Regions from separate parts of the Homo sapiens genome. Here region 2 is linked to region 1. The links are contacts of gene promoters, found by promoter capture Hi-C in human tissues and cell types (Jung and others, 2019). All regions are on one chromosome and are shown on one strand. The core of a region is centred on a gene start or on the middle of the fragment in contact, and the rest is flanking DNA. Distances in the headings are between cores, read along the strand shown.

The links. Contacts are between HindIII fragments. The study calls those that stand out against the background at their distance.
Region 2: a fragment that was not itself captured here is called in contact with the fragment with the promoter of GALNT18 in region 1 in 1 of the 25 tissues and cell types used here (aorta).

What each region holds. Positions count from the first base shown.
Region 1 is chr11:11,618,911-11,626,494 of GRCh38, forward strand. It overlaps GALNT18 (polypeptide N-acetylgalactosaminyltransferase 18), which reads right to left and starts at 3,095. Exons shown (of 11, transcript NM_198516.3): 1 at 2,449-3,095. The coding sequence starts at 2,683. RefSeq lists enhancers at 976-1,945, 1,398-1,537, 2,578-2,627, 2,838-2,917, 3,035-3,535 and 1 more and silencers at 2,118-2,187, 2,208-2,287, 3,038-3,397. The HindIII fragment of the contact is 13,654 bases long and covers 1-7,584 here.
Region 2 is chr11:10,797,438-10,805,021 of GRCh38, forward strand. It overlaps EIF4G2 (eukaryotic translation initiation factor 4 gamma 2), which reads right to left. Exons shown (of 22, transcript NM_001418.4): 5 at 7,476-7,578; 6 at 6,850-6,981; 7 at 6,700-6,766; 8 at 6,462-6,613; 9 at 6,043-6,153; 10 at 5,774-5,857; 11 at 5,593-5,691; 12 at 4,857-4,998; 13 at 4,612-4,772; 14 at 4,224-4,337; 15 at 3,525-3,650; 16 at 3,294-3,398; 17 at 2,995-3,210; 18 at 2,653-2,911; 4 more. The coding sequence ends at 379. It overlaps SNORD97 (small nucleolar RNA, C/D box 97), which reads right to left and starts at 4,171; the gene lies at 4,030-4,171. The HindIII fragment of the contact is 4,428 bases long and covers 2,608-7,035 here.

The sequences.
Region 1 (7,584 bases), core at 1,845-4,344:
TGACAGTGGGTTACACATAAACAGCTTGTACCATCAAGCACAAGAGCTTGATCTTATTGTCCTTTACCACCCTCTGCCTTCAGAGAGCTGCACTTGACCAGCCCCAAATTTTATAGGCCCTTTACCTCTGTTTCCTAAATCCCAGCTCAGGATGGCCCCAGCATGGCAAAGGGAACTGTTGGTCATTGCTACACCATCATGGCACAGCCAACCTGGTAACCTCTGCCCCTGCCTGCCTCATTTCCAGTCTTTCCAAGTCACTGACCCTTCCCTACCTTCCTATAGGTGGCAGCTTTGGCCCTCTGTCGAGATTGTGGTTATTTCTGAATACCCACAGGGGTCATTGCACGTGTACAAGTGGAACAACACGTGTTTTAGGGACCCTGTCTCCTATTTTTTTAACCTATCTTCTCCAATTTTTCAGGTATAGATTTGAAAGTGCTGAACAACACATAGTTATAAAGTTTCCGGGGAGAAAAATCACAATGCTTCCTTTCAACTTCAACATCATGCTTTTCCATGTGGAACCTTAGAAATCATGTGACATGGTCCACATTCCACATGACTGGCACCCACTCCGTTACAGGCTCAGGGGTTAATGGCATCCCCTGAAAGCATCCCCAAAGCAGTACCTTGCTCACCTCCTGCCTGACCAGAAAGAAAAGCACAAGAGAATCATTTTCCAGGAACACACACACACACAGAATCTGTGAATGAAAATCTCAAAATCTGTCGGCAAACTAGAAATGTCAAAGTAAGGCATGGCTTTGTGTCTCCTGGGGAACATTCTGAATCACCCTGGGGGAAACACTGTACTTCTATTGCTGATTAATAGTCAATCAAGACCTATGGGATGGAAAAGGACACGTAAGAAATAACAGCAACTGGCACCCACAGATAGGTAAATTGGTTTTCAAGCCCAGTGCCAGGTTGAGAGGCAGAGGCAGGTCTGAAGAAGAAGCTGTCAATGTCCCTCTTTTCTGGGAAGGTGCCGAAGCCATGGGCTTGTTTTGAAGTCATTAGTCAGGAAGCACTATGGATGTGGATGCCTCTCCTGCACTCACCTGAACCTCCCTGAACCTTCCCCTCCTGGAAAGGAACTATTCTGGACACCTGGGGAAACACCAAATTCAGACGGAGGAGCCATCTCTACTCTGGCAAGAGCAGCAGGTGCAAGGATTGGAATTCAGACATCCACGTGTAAACAAAAGGGAGTGCTCCTGGCGGGGGGGTGGGGGGTAAGCCTTCAGTTCAATTCGATTTTGCCAAGGTCTGCCATGCACTGGCCCCTGAGCCTGGTGGGCCTGCTAGGTTTACAGGGGAACCAAGCTCGGCCCTGCCCTTAAGAAGCTCACACACCTGGAAGAAAGCAGGGGGCGCGGGGAGGGGAGGAAGTGTGGACGTGAGCGCGCGCGCGCGCGCGTGTGTGTGTGTGTGTGCACACCCGGCACCAGTGCTCCTGGCGCCCGGAACTCCATTCCCTCCCATGACAGCTCATTGACCAGGTCGCCTCGGGAGAGCGCCCTGCAACCCCCACCCTCCCTTTGGACCCCCGCGCTGGTCTGGAGCGCACCCAACCAGCGTAACCTTACACTTCAGACCCAACCCAGGTCTGCTCAGCCCCGGCTGCTCCCAGGGCCTGAGAGTGGAGCTACAGTAGGGATCGGCCTTCACCCGGTCCCGGGCGGCTCCGCGGGGAAGGCGCAGCCCAGGGCGTGTTCTTCCAGTCTTGGGCGGAGTCATCACCACAGTGGACAGAGACTCCAGCGCTACTTCCCGGCGTTGACACCTGCTCCTGGAGAGGGTCCTGGACCCGCGGGCTGTGGTGGGGGTAGGGACTGCTATAGGTTCAAGCGGCTTTTCAACCACAGAGGGCTCCTTGCATTCCCTATCGCCTACCAACGGGATCACAGCAAGACTGGGGCTGGGGCTGATACAACGCAATTTTCCTAGCCTCGCTTGTCCGGCAGCCTGCGGGTCTTAACTGCCAATAGTCAGGGCCGCCGCGCGGGCATCTCGCCTGACGCCTACAGTGGCCAAAAAAGCTCGTTTGCCCGCGCGTTCCCTCTTGTACACACACAGACATTCACATGCACACACACTCTGAGCCGGACTTGTGTGCGATCCCGAGAGCCCGCGAGCAACCAGCCCAGAGTCACACGCACATTTGGACACGTGCGCAGCGCGCCCCCATACCGCCAGCTAGCTGCACACATCCGCTCGTGCAGCCCTGCGCACACACGTGTGCCCCGGGGAAGAGCGCACGGCCGCAGACAGAAGGTCCCGAACGCAGGCAGGAGCTCACACGCAGGCCCCACGACTACCACGCATCTGCGGCCCCAGAGCCCCGCCGTGGCTGAGTTGATGCGCACCAGCCCCAGCGCACCCCGCGCCGCGCGGGGCACTCCCGGGCCTCATGGGCGACCCAAGTTTCCGGGGCGCCCGTACCTTGAATGTGCTGCTTGATGACATTCTCCAGGTGGTCCAGCCGCTCAATAATCTTCAGAGTGTCCCCTTTGTCTTCCTCCAGCTTCTTGTCGGGCGCCGGCTCCTGCCCCCGCACATACACGCTGGCGATGTAGTTGGTGACCCAGCCCACGTAGAGCAGGCAGATGATGTTAGTCATGCCGCTCAGGATCACGCAAGTGGACACCAAAGTTTTGGTCTTCCTGGTGCACACCATTCTGGGCTCCTTCCTCCATATAGAGCTCCCGGGGGCCCTTCCTTGTCGTGCGCCCCGAACTCCCCCGCGCTCGCACCCCGTAGCACGTCCGGAGCCGCTGGGCACCTCAGCACCTGAGTCCCGAGGTTCTCCAAAGCCCGGTCCGCTGCCGGTGTAGCCGCCGTGCCCAAGTTTGCAGCTCCTGCCGCTGGCCACCCGGAGAGACCTTGACAAAGGAAACCAGGTGGATTTTTTTCCAAATTAAAAATCCCTGAACCCTTCCTAGAGGGGTCACGGGTAGCCGGCAGCCGCGCGTCCAGATGTGTACGTCTGGGAAACTTTGCCACTGCCTGTGTCGGCGGCCACGCCGCTTCCCATCGCCAGCGCCGGCTGCCTTGGCGGTCCGACCGGCCCGCGCTGCTAGGAGAACAGCGGCAGCGGCAGCGGCGGCGGGGAGAGCCGCGAAGCAGAGCGGCCCGGCCCCCTCCGAGCGACAAGCGCTGCCACCAATCGCGCTCCGGCTCGGGAGAGGGGCCGGTGCTGAGCGGCAGCGGACCAACGGGGAGGGAGCGGGGGGCGGAGTCCAGCTCCCAGGCCCCACCTGCTGGCCGCCCCTGGCTCCCGCCCCCAGGGACGCGCCCGGGCCTCCACCCGCGCCTGCACAGGCTGCCCCAGACCTGAAGCTCCCGGAGAGGGCGCGCTGCCAGTCCCAGCCCTTAGGTCGGCAGCTTCCTCCGTTAGGGGAATTCCATCTCTTGCTCTTGGGCAGGAATCTCCTGGTTTTGTGGAGGGGGTGGGGGGTTCGCACGGGTCAGCTTCTTTCATCCGCCCGGGGCTTCTCGCATTGGTGCCACCAGTCGACTCCTGGAATCTTTTCTTGGTTGCCAGGACGCTGAGAAGCCAAGGAAGTGCCAGCCCCAGCGGCATCCACTCCTTCCTTGGCCTCACTTGGGCCTCCACCCTGCCCTCTGCCCTTCAGCCACCGGCCTCCTGAGTGTGTCCAGACCTGGCCCTAAACCTGGCTGAAAGGAGCCAACCCTCCGGCAACCTCCCAGAAGCAACATTGGTGACCTATTAGATGACTCTCTCGACCACTTCTTCCCCCCCCCCACCCCCCACCCCCCACCCCCACCGCCTGCCCCAATTTTTGCCCCTATCTAGGTTTTTCTTTAAGTCTGTACAGCTCCCAGGACATGGATGTGTCCTTTAAGCCCAGTTTTCATTTATGTGGAACCAGGGTCATCCAGTGCATAAAGAAACCCTGCAAGGAAGTGCCGCTGAGGGGAACTGAGGTCTGTGAACTGTAAAGCCCTTCTACATGTTGTTTATGATTGCTATCATAGAGGGCGGTGGGAGAGACCTGTGACTGAGCACAGGAGGAGGCCAGACGCAGACAGTGATACTGCTGTGTTTGTTCTTACTGCCAATGTTTACTCATATTATCCTCTTCTGCTGAACACCCCGTTCTCAGCACCTGAACGGAATTCCTTTAAACAAAGACTTTTTACAACATAGATTTCCTGCCTCTTCTCCATCTCTGAGTTGCTTTATTTTTTTGGCCTAAGCCAGGGAGGCAGCCTGCTGCATGCCCACTTTGTTGTGTGCCAGCCTTCCAACCAGCCACAGAAATACTCAGGGCAGCTCCATCCTGGGATATCTTCTGGATTCAAATGACTGGCCCCACAAGAGAGGGAGAGCACAAAACCAAAGAAAGGGCACTTTATGGCCCCATCAGCCAAGGGCCCTTCTACCAATGCTTTGTTTACAAAACCTCCCCAAAGATGCTATGAAAACAGATACCAACTAGGGACCCGGGAAGATTTCCCTTGATCCATAGCTGGAAGAGAGAACAGTGGGTGTGGGTTGGCGTGGGCTGGGGTATAGAAGGGGGAGAAGAATCGTGTGTATGGTATGTAGGAGATACATACATGAGAGGAGAGAATGTACACAATTTCTGAAAAAATCAAGGTAGAGAAATCTGCCTCCAGGAGGGAGTAAAACTTGTCTCTCCCTTTTTTCTCTTCCAGAGGTATAATCCAGCTCACAAATAAAGGATCTGAACTTTCTTCTGGTTGGACAGACTTACAAGCAATGCCCTTGAGTACAGGCTAAGGTGTAATCTTTCCTTCTGTTCTGCCCCCTCTCCCAGGAGGAGCCCTGGAAGTTCAGCCCTTCTTGGGATCTTCCTAAACCACCACAGGACTAGAAAGAGAAGGCAATACTCATTCTTTTCACATTCTTAATGGAAAAAAATTAAATCCCAAGTTTAAAAAAATGAGGGTCAAGAAGAAAACAAAGTGAATTGTGTGATCTTAAATTTTGTACAGCTGATCCTCTAAGATAATGTGTAACTGTAGAGGGGATGAATACAACAAAAGAAGAATGCTGAACAGGTTCTCCTCTCTGAAAAGTCACAGGTTTGAGTTGACCTGTTCAAAGAATTTTCTCTGGAGGTGCAGGCAGACTCCAGGGTTCTAATCCCAGATCCACCATGTATTAGTTATGAGAGCCTGGACACATTTCAAAAAGTCAGTAGGGCTCAATTTCTCCCATGTATCAAATGTAGGTAGACAATACCTTACTGAGGACAGGCTGTGAAAATTAACTGAGAGAATGTTCCAGAAAGGGCTTTAATTAGTGCAGGACACATAGTGAGTGGTTAGGATCATGTGAGTTTCCTTCCAGATATGGTCACTCCCTTTCCAGGCCAGAGCTCAGCTCCGTGACCTCCATCCTGCTGTTTAGCAATACTTGGTTTCTCTACCTACCAGTATCAGCCCTCTCTCCCCTAATGGAAGCTAACAGGAACTAAAGCTATGAGCACCAAGGGGCTCATCTCATCGTCGCTAGCTGGGCTCCAGCACATTGGCTTTCTATTCATAATGTCTGTCTTCACCATCAGTAGTACAATGATCTGCATAGGTTGATAAAATATTCAAAATGAAAGGCTGGTTTCTTCAAGGTACTGGTCACCCCCAGTACCTTCAACTTTTCCACTCAAGACCCCTAATCCCTTGGTTGCAAACAAAGGAAGTGGGAGGGGGCATAAAGGCTTTGCTCACAAAGATTTTGCAGTCACAGGTCAGAAAAAAGTCTCTTTGCAAGCTCCCTCGTAAACAATACCTGGGTAGCAATTCATACCTTTAGTCCTGAATTCAGTTACCATACATCCAATCCTACAAGTAATGGTTGTGCTCCTGAGGTTTTGTGTAAATGACCAGTTGTCCTAGCCTCTGCCCATTTTGCTCCAGATAGGTAGATCCAGTCTGAGTTTCATTGTGTCAATACGGGCCTCTTTTCTGAGCTCAGGAAGCTGCTAAAAATCATCCTTGGATTGTAAGGATGTTTCTGATTCCCAAGTTCGGTCATTTATCTAACTCCTAAGTGTTTCCTCTCCTTTACTTTAAATAAATCCTGCCTCCTGCTGGGGATCATTGTGAGGAGTTAATCAGATAATAGGTGTAAGCAGGCCTAGCAGAGACTCCAGTACAACGTAGTTCTTCAAACTTATCCTGAGAGTTAGAATCTAGGGTCTCCTTTAACTCCTGCCACAAGAGGAGAGTGAGTGCCTTGAGGCATATACAATGGGGCTGAAGATTCTTGATAAAGCTTATCTACTACAGCCTCTGGATTTCACCCATCTTTTACATTGGGTAGGCAGCTCTTCTCTTGATGTGACTGAGGGCGAGCTGAATAGGACTTCCTACGCATAAGTACCACCACACTGTGACTCCCCCAACACTAAGCCTTCATTCAAAATACCTTTGATACTAGAGTTAGAGAAGGCCAGTCACTAATGGAATTCAGCCACCAACTGATTACATTCTGCATAGGGTACCCTGACCTGAGGTTTAAAGACGAACAGTGAACCAGTCTTGGCCAATGGCCATTCACTCTTCAGAGAGGGTTGTCAGTGGTCATCTGTACCTTCCAGATGGCAGCACCATGCAAAGCCTTGGGGCCAGAGTGTCAGGATTTGGGGGTGCTAAAGGATAAAAACAGGCCTGGATCATGGAAAGCCTCAATCCCTGTGCTGGCTGCATGGGAATTGGGGTTGCCAGGTTCCTAGGAGAACAGGGATTGTTGGCACTTCCAGCAAGGATGGATGTATGGTTCAGAGACAAAAGCTACAGAGGAAAAGTAGGGCCAAGATTGGATTTTGCCAAGCTACAGGTCTGAGATATCATTAACAAAAAAGGCACACTTCTTGGGGAGGGATGGTAAATGAAGAGAGAAACGTTTGTTTAGTGCCTACGTTGTACCAGGCCTAGTGTTTTTCATGTTCTCTCTTGAGCACAGATTACGGAGCCAGACAGCTGGGTTCATATCTCAGTTCTGCCGTTTATTAGCAGTATGATCTTGGGAAAATTCCTTAACCACACTGTGCCTCAGTTTATTCATCTGTACATGGAGATAATACTGATACTGCTTACCTCACGGAGAAGTTGTGAGAATTCAATGAATTAATGTGTACAAAGCACACTAAAGGCACTACATGTATTGGCTATTGTCATTATTGCTGTCTCTGAGCACCAGAGTATCTAACATGCAAATGAATGGAGGGAAGACAAGCCACCCAGAGGGCACTTTCCTCTAACTAGGGGCAAAGGGTCCTCTTGCTCCTCTTCTGTCACCCTATTTAAGGATCCAAAACAACTCCTAGCTGAGTTACAGGGCAAACCCTGGCCGGAATCCAGCAACAAGACCCATCTAACCCTCTGTCCATTGATTCATCCACTAAATATTTTCTGAGTGCCTGCTCTGTGCTAGACCCAAAGCTGGGTACTGGCAATACAGAGGTGACTCACAGACCCTCATCCCTGCCCTCAAAGAGATCACTGTTGAATGGATGAGGCCAAAAAATAAACAACCATAATACAGTAGGATAAGCTCTTTTCTGAGATATTCTATTAATATGAGAA
Region 2 (7,584 bases), core at 3,572-6,071, 820 kb before region 1:
ATTACTGAGCAAAGTGCATTTCTACAGTATTCAGTGTTGCTATTCAGTTTTCTAACTTAAAACAGCCTATGATAACTGGCAGCAAAGAAGGTCCTTGCAATAGACTGCCTCTGCTTGAGAACTTATGATGTAATTATTGCATGCTGCTAATATACTATCTAAACATTAAAGATACTCCTAAAATATTTGATGGTAGACTATGATTAAGACATTACACTACAAAAAAACCTTATGCAGAAGGAAATCCTAACTGACGTGCTTCTGCTTTAAATATTGTGAAAACATTACAGCGGAATGAATTTTCGCAGTGGTTAGGTCAAATGCAGTTACATCATAGCAACAGTATGTTTTGCACAATTTAAGGCTTTGGCTGGTTCTTTAGTCAGCTTCTTCCTCTGATTCTTCTTCTTCAGCAGTTTCTAACCAGGTTAGCCACTGATTCACCTATAAATTAAGATTTGTAAATTAAAATAGTTCATGATATAAACAGAAATCCATCCAAAAAGTTTTAGGTGGTACTACACAGTTTTAGAATATGAAACAAGGATATCCCTACCAACAATTTGTATATTAAGTTAACGAACAGTGGTATATTATCCAGATTTGGGACAACACAGAGCTAAAGATTTAATCCTGCAAGGATGATCCTCGTGAATCTTGTTTATCATCAGCAATAAAAAGGTAGGAAGATGCTGCAGGACCAATGTTTCTCAAGCCTGGGCCCCCTGGAAAACTAGTAGCATGAGAAAGAATCACCTGGATTTTGTACCACAGACCTACTAAACCAGAATCTCTAGGAATAGGCCTGGAACCTGCTTTTTAAACTGCTCTTCAGGTGATTTGAGAGAATGCCCTGATGTTCTTCCCCTAGGGCTACAAGTTCATTCAATAAGAAAAAATCAAATTGTGAGAAATCAGAAACATCTCCTCTTTTTAGAAAAATATATAGTATTTAAACTTTTTTTCTTTTTTTGAGACACAGTCTCACTCTGTTGCCCAGACTAGAGTGCAGTGGTGTGATCTCAGCTCACTGCAACCTCTGCCTCCTGGGCTCAAGACATCCTCCCGAGTAGCTGGGACCAGGACCACAGAACATGTCACCACGTCTGGCTAATTTTTTGTATTTTTTAGAGACAGGGTTTCACTATGCTGCCCAGGCTGGTCTTGAACTCCTGAGCTCAAGTGATCCTCCCACCTCAGCCTCTTAAAGTGCTAGGATTACAGGCATGAGCCACGTGCCCAGCTACAATTTCCTCTTTACTGATGTTTTTAAAAAAGCTTAAATCGAAACTTGTACAGTCACTCCCATGTATATAAGTAGCTATACTCCTTGAAAAGTTAGCTACCTCTAACATCTTATACACCACTAGAATTGATTCATTGTGTAGCTTTACTTAATAATAGCTTCAAATAGTGCAGAATGAAATGTACAGGTGAAGACAAACTACTAACTAGGACTACCTTGCCTGTATTTCAGTTGAAAAAGGCTCTTAACTTGAAGTTAATACCAAGCAAACTGAAGTAAGCAGACCAAATTTTTAACAAAAGACTTACCTGGAACAAAGCCTTGCCTTTTCCCGGAAACTCTTGGGTTATATCTTCTTTCCAAGCCAAGAAAGCTTCTTCTTCAATAATTTCCATGTCATAGAAGTGCACAAAAAAGCGAAGTAACATGCCTTAAAAAAAAAAAAAAAAAGAAAAAAGTAATAAGCCCATTATTTAGTGTTCTGTTTAAGAACTTCCTCACGCCGTTCTTCTGATACAAGTCCTCTCACCTTTTGGGAAGTTGCTGTTATAGCAGTGCACCTGGAGAGCATACAGGGCACTGACTTGTAGATCAACGTGATCATGAAGAAATTTCTGCATTACTGGCTTGAAAGATAGTAGTAGTTGTTTTTCCTGCTCTAACTGTTCTTTGGAAGGAGCAGAGGATGAATCTGTTTCATCGCTGGGGGGGTTTACTTCACTAGAAATGTACTGTAAGAAGCTGGACAGAAAGAGGTCTTGTTAGAACCCAACAGTGAGTTTTCTTGCTCAAGAGACAACTCTTAGTCTCCTACGCTTCTTTTCCAGTACATGAAACATTACCATATGCAGAAAACCATTCGTCTTACCTAGTCATTAAGATGTTCACAAATCCTTTATCTACATGAAGTTTGGGAGAGATGTTATCTTTAATCCATTTATATATGGTTTGAGGGGATGGATCCAACTTTATTTGCTTCAACAGTTCCTTCTCCAATTTGAGGAGTGGGAATAAGAAACTCAGTCCCTTTCCTTCCAAAATCTCCAACATGCGGTCCTTATTCTGATCAATTTCTGAAGAGACAAAGCCACCTGCATCATCTAATAGTTCATTTTACCAAGTTGTCCTGTCCAGAGAGCAGAGCTTCACAAATGATGTCCCCAAGTATGTAAGATCCATGTAGCAGAATAGAGAACCAACCCAGCAAATGAAAAAAACTCAACATACGGATCAAATGAAAGTAGTTAAATTATAAATCTCTCTTTATAGGTGAGATCTGTGGTAATGTTTATCATTATCTGAGCAGGACAATCAGACTGTCTGACCTACATAAATCCACTCAAGGTACCTGAAATCTCTAGATATAATATTAAAAAAACAAAACAAACAAGTCAGCATTCTCTTACCTGGGAGCATTTTCTGCATATTGACCTTGCTTTGTTGAAAAAGTTCTGTTAACCATTCTCGATCTTGTAATTTAGCTAACTGCTGAAGACAAAGTAGGAAGAGAGGAAAATGGGTGCCACTTTCTAGTGGTTGAGCTAGTTCTGAAATGCTCACCAGCTCTGAAATGATGGCACGAGCTGCAAACTGTGCTAAATAGGATTTCACCAAAGGGATGTCAACCTCCAGTTTGGGACACTGGTCCAATACATTCAGGAAAGCCTTGAAAGAAATATACAACAGTTTATCAGTTTTCGAATTTGAGTGGTAAGAGTTCTTACCACACAATCAGTAAAGTGTCCTACCTGCATGAAGTTGTCACTTGTGGCTATCCCTTCCTGTTTGAGTAAACTGATCAAAGAACTTGCTTTTTCTTTATCTTCATCGCTTCTATCTAGTGACAGGATGATTACTTTGCTTAACATCTCAGGAAGAAAGTGTTTAGGAGCCCTCATTTCTCTTACACCATTGACAGCCTCATTTGCATTTCCACTATTTAGATATTCAGTCACAACAGTTTCCTGTGAAGAACACAAGTATCTTTAATGTATTCTCTATCTCAAATACAGGCTAATTACACTAAAATGGGATATTTGAAACTTACAGTTAGTTTAAGGAGTTCTTCCTTTGACGGTGGTGGCTTTTTGCTGGTCTTGGCAGGCTTTTCCTGGATAAGCGGTGGATTAGTTTTGAGACCAAGCTGAGGTGTCTAAAAAACAAGCAATGACAGACTTTTTTTAAAAAGAGGACTATGAAATTAGGGGGAAGAACACACTAAATTTAGAAAAAAGTCTTCAGATATCTTTAGAAAATGCTGTCCTACTATGGTCTGTACCTGTCCCAGAGGTGGTGTTTGAGTGCGTGGTGGTTGTGCACTAGGAGGAATCATAGTTATCTGGGGCTGAAGCTTTGGCACTTGATTTTTATTCATTAGGAACGACTGAGCAGGCCTCAGGCTAATCTGGAATTGAAAACAAAATATATCTAAATTAACAACATGCAGTTGGCGAACATATTAAATACAACATTCTAAAATCCTATACAGTGACAGAATCTAGGGAAACATTAAGCTTTTTGAAAAACTAAAGAAGGTACTCCACATTAACAGGTTTAATTTTTGGCAAAAAATTTAAAGATCTGATGCATACAGTAGTAAGATACTATTATAAATCTTACATTCTCTTAGAATTAGCATGACTAAAATATTCAAATAAAAAACTGCAAATTTAACTACAGTTTAGAAAATGCCCTGTTTTATCCTTAGTTAAATCACCCTTACAAAGAAAGAAACCACAATATTTTGACAACCAGTTTTCTTGCTCTAACAGACTTTAGGAGACTTGCCCTCATATCTCATAATCTTCGCTCACAGGACGCTGGACATTCAAAGAAAGAAAAAGAAGTATAGAAAAGAGAGAAAAACGTCAAGAACTCCAGCATAAAGTCCTCTTAATAACGCGTCTTTTTATAATCATCGGGCAATAAATTTCTGAATGGACAAACTATGGTATATAAGTAACATAGGCAAATGTACCTCATCTGCATTAAGCTGTCCTTTCTTAGAAAACCGAGGTGGCATATCCTTCGACTGTCCTTGCAGCTGGGATAAGAGTCCCTGACTCTGGTTATGGTAGAGCTGGCTTAGCCCCTATTTCAGAAAAGGAGAAAGAAAGTCTAGATAAAAAGGGGTCCACAAATTATGGTAATCAAGTACCAAAGGGATGAGCCAAGCCATAAAGTTAGTTTAACTGAATTTGCCCAGAGAAAGTAAAAGATGAAACAGGGAAGAATAAAAATCTAACCTATCAAATAAAGTGATGTGATTTTACTAATACTTTACTAATCTTAAGGATAAACATTTCAGTTTGAAATAAATGTTGCAGATAAGGTTTAGAAAACATGCACACTCAAATATTACTTACCTGGCTTTTCATAAACTTGCCTCCCATCTCTCCAAACTGCGATTGTGTGGGAGGCATGATGTGTCCCCCATGGCCATTGAAGAGTTGATTTGAACGATGACGTCCCATGGTGGGTGAAAATCTATCCTGGATAACTCCTGGACCAGTACCAATTCCGCTACCTTAAAATACATATACGGACAACTCTCAAAACTAAAGTTAACTGATTTTTCAGCTTAACGCAACCATTGTTTTTTCAAAATTACCTGGCATTTGTCCAAACATATCAGCAAGTCCTCCAAGTGGGTCCCTATCCATTTTCATCCTGGGTGGCATGAACGGTCCCTCCAGAAAGAAGTCACTTCTCATCCCTTGAGCCATAGGAGCAGGAATAAACACCCCTAGATCCTTTAGAAATGAAGTGAATATGCACTTTTTGTCTCTGGACACTATTTCACTTAAAACTAAAATTCTTGCAACTAGGGGGGGAAACCTAGAATATTAAACCATAATTTATGTTATTTCTGTAAATAACTTCTTCCAAAAATGGCAGACAAGGCTGGGCATGATGGCTCACATCTGTAATCCCCCGACTTTGGGAGGCCCAAGCCTTGGTTTGCATGAGGTCAGGAGTTCAAGACAAGCCTGGCCAACATGGTGGAACCCTGTCTCTACTAAAAATACAAAAAATTAGCGGGGTGTGGTGGCGCACGCCTATAGTCCCAGCTACTGGGGAGGCTGAAGCAGGAGAATCACTTGAACCTGGGAGGCAGAGGCTGCAGTGAATCGAGAATGCGCCACTGCACTCCAGCCTGGGTGACAGTGCGAAACTCCGTCTCAAAAAATAAAAAAATAAAAGTGGAAGACGAGACACTAAAAACATTAAGCTCCACCACTAAGATGAGACAGACCCCTCAAGCGTTTGGGGTGGGTGAGGAGGAAACCCATTCTATTCTACACACACAGAGTCTATGTGACAAACAAAACAAAACCCAATCTTACTTTTACTGCATCTTGACGAATTTGATTGATCGTCTTTGGTCCATTGTCAAGAAAAGCCTTGCGAGGAACCCAATGGTGTTCTCGCAACTCTACGGTATCCTTTAATTGAAAAATAATTTTATTTTAATATTCCTAAACCAAAAACTCAGCTTACCAACAAATTTAAAGAAACCAGTATTACCTGCAGCAGGAAACGAATCCTTGCTGGCAATTCCTTACTTAACATCAAGGAGCACATTCGGGCAAAGTACTGATCCATTAAGGACTGATAAGAGAAGAATACATTCATTGGAAGAGCTAAAGCAAATGTGTTCAATTTACAGCTTTAAGACTTCTAAAATTATAACCCAGTTAATGGCTAAATATGGCAATCCCTTATGATGTCACAAAAATCAATAGCTTGATTTAAAGACAAACTACTTGTACTACTTTCATCAGCTACACACGTACCTTGGCTCGTTCATGGTCTAATCTAGGTCCCACTGTCCTCATTATCTGACAGAGGCACTCCAAATCCTCTCCCATATCTTTGAGTTGGACTCTCTTCTTCTTTTCCAAAAGCTACAAGAATAAAAGGCCATGGTGACAAAGTTTTAGTTACTCTGGTTTAGGCGTAGTACTTTCTTTCCCTTTATGTTTGCACTGACTCATTCACAGTTCCTACAGAATCTAGTATAGGGCTTTCTACCAGTCTGGTTGATCAGTTCTAACTCTACTTTGTCAAACACACCACGTATTTCAAATTATTCTGTTTAGTAAATTTTGTTGCACATCTGTATTTAACTAGTCAACCTCCCTCTTAGATGAATAATTGACTCATTTCCTCCAAACGACTGACTACATTCGCCTAACTTCCCTGTCACACTTACTGTTTTGATGCACTTATGAAGGATAGATTCGTGAATAAGATCAAGCTTGCCAAGCTCTCCAATGAATTTGATGTTTCCCAACATCTTGATCTTAGCAATGGCTCTCTGTTCCTCCTCCTCGGGGAGGAGGGGATTTTCACGCTTATCATAGACTGAAAAAGATACCAATGAAGTAAGCCAACATTCAGAATTAAGCTGAAAATATACAGTAGTACTTATTATCAGCTATAAGTCTTACCATCAACATTTCTAGTTCGGTTTTCAAATTCATCTTGTAATTTGGAAATTAGGAGGCGTCTGAATGTCTGGAAAAGAAGACATTGTCATGCTTTATTAAGGAAATTTTTCAAGTCAACTTTAAAACAAGCAAACAAAAACTACCACTTACGGTGCTTTGCTTCTGTCCTGGTTGACCCTCTGCTGCTGGGCCATCAAAGTTTGGTGCATCTTCTGCCAATCGCAGACATAGCTGAGCATACAGTGAGCTATACTTTGGCTCTTCTAGGGCTTTGTCCACAATCTACAGAAAATGTCATTGCTTAAACTAAATATGAAAACTTCTCCAAGAACCCTTCCTTTAGGAAAAATACAACCACCTAAATGTTAGCTATTACAGTCTACCAAAAATGTCCAGTTATACAGATTTCATCTAGTCACATCCATCTCCTGGGAGTCAGAAAATGCCATGGATATCAAAACTTTCAAGTCTACATAAACTGTCATACAATGCATTTCCAAGACCTAAATACGGTGTTTTCCACAAAAGAAAAAGAACAGCTTGCTAAGCACTCCCATTTACCTCTTCAACCATACCATGAACTTAACATTTACCTCTTCAATCTAATGCTACTAAAGTCAGTGGTTCTTTTTAATCACCATCAGTATTCAAAAATACATACCTATCTAACTCACACCTAAGGGTTTTAAGTAGTAATCCAAGTGTAAAAAAACACAACTTGAGTTTGTTAAACAGTTCCCTCTCCCTTTTGAGTTAAGCCAATATTTAAAACTTACCAGCAGTATGACCCCTTTAAGGATGAGTTTAGACTCTACACCCACATTGAGGAGCTCAAGGCATAGCTTGTCAAACTTTTCAGGAGTAAGCTTATTTAGTATGCTGGAG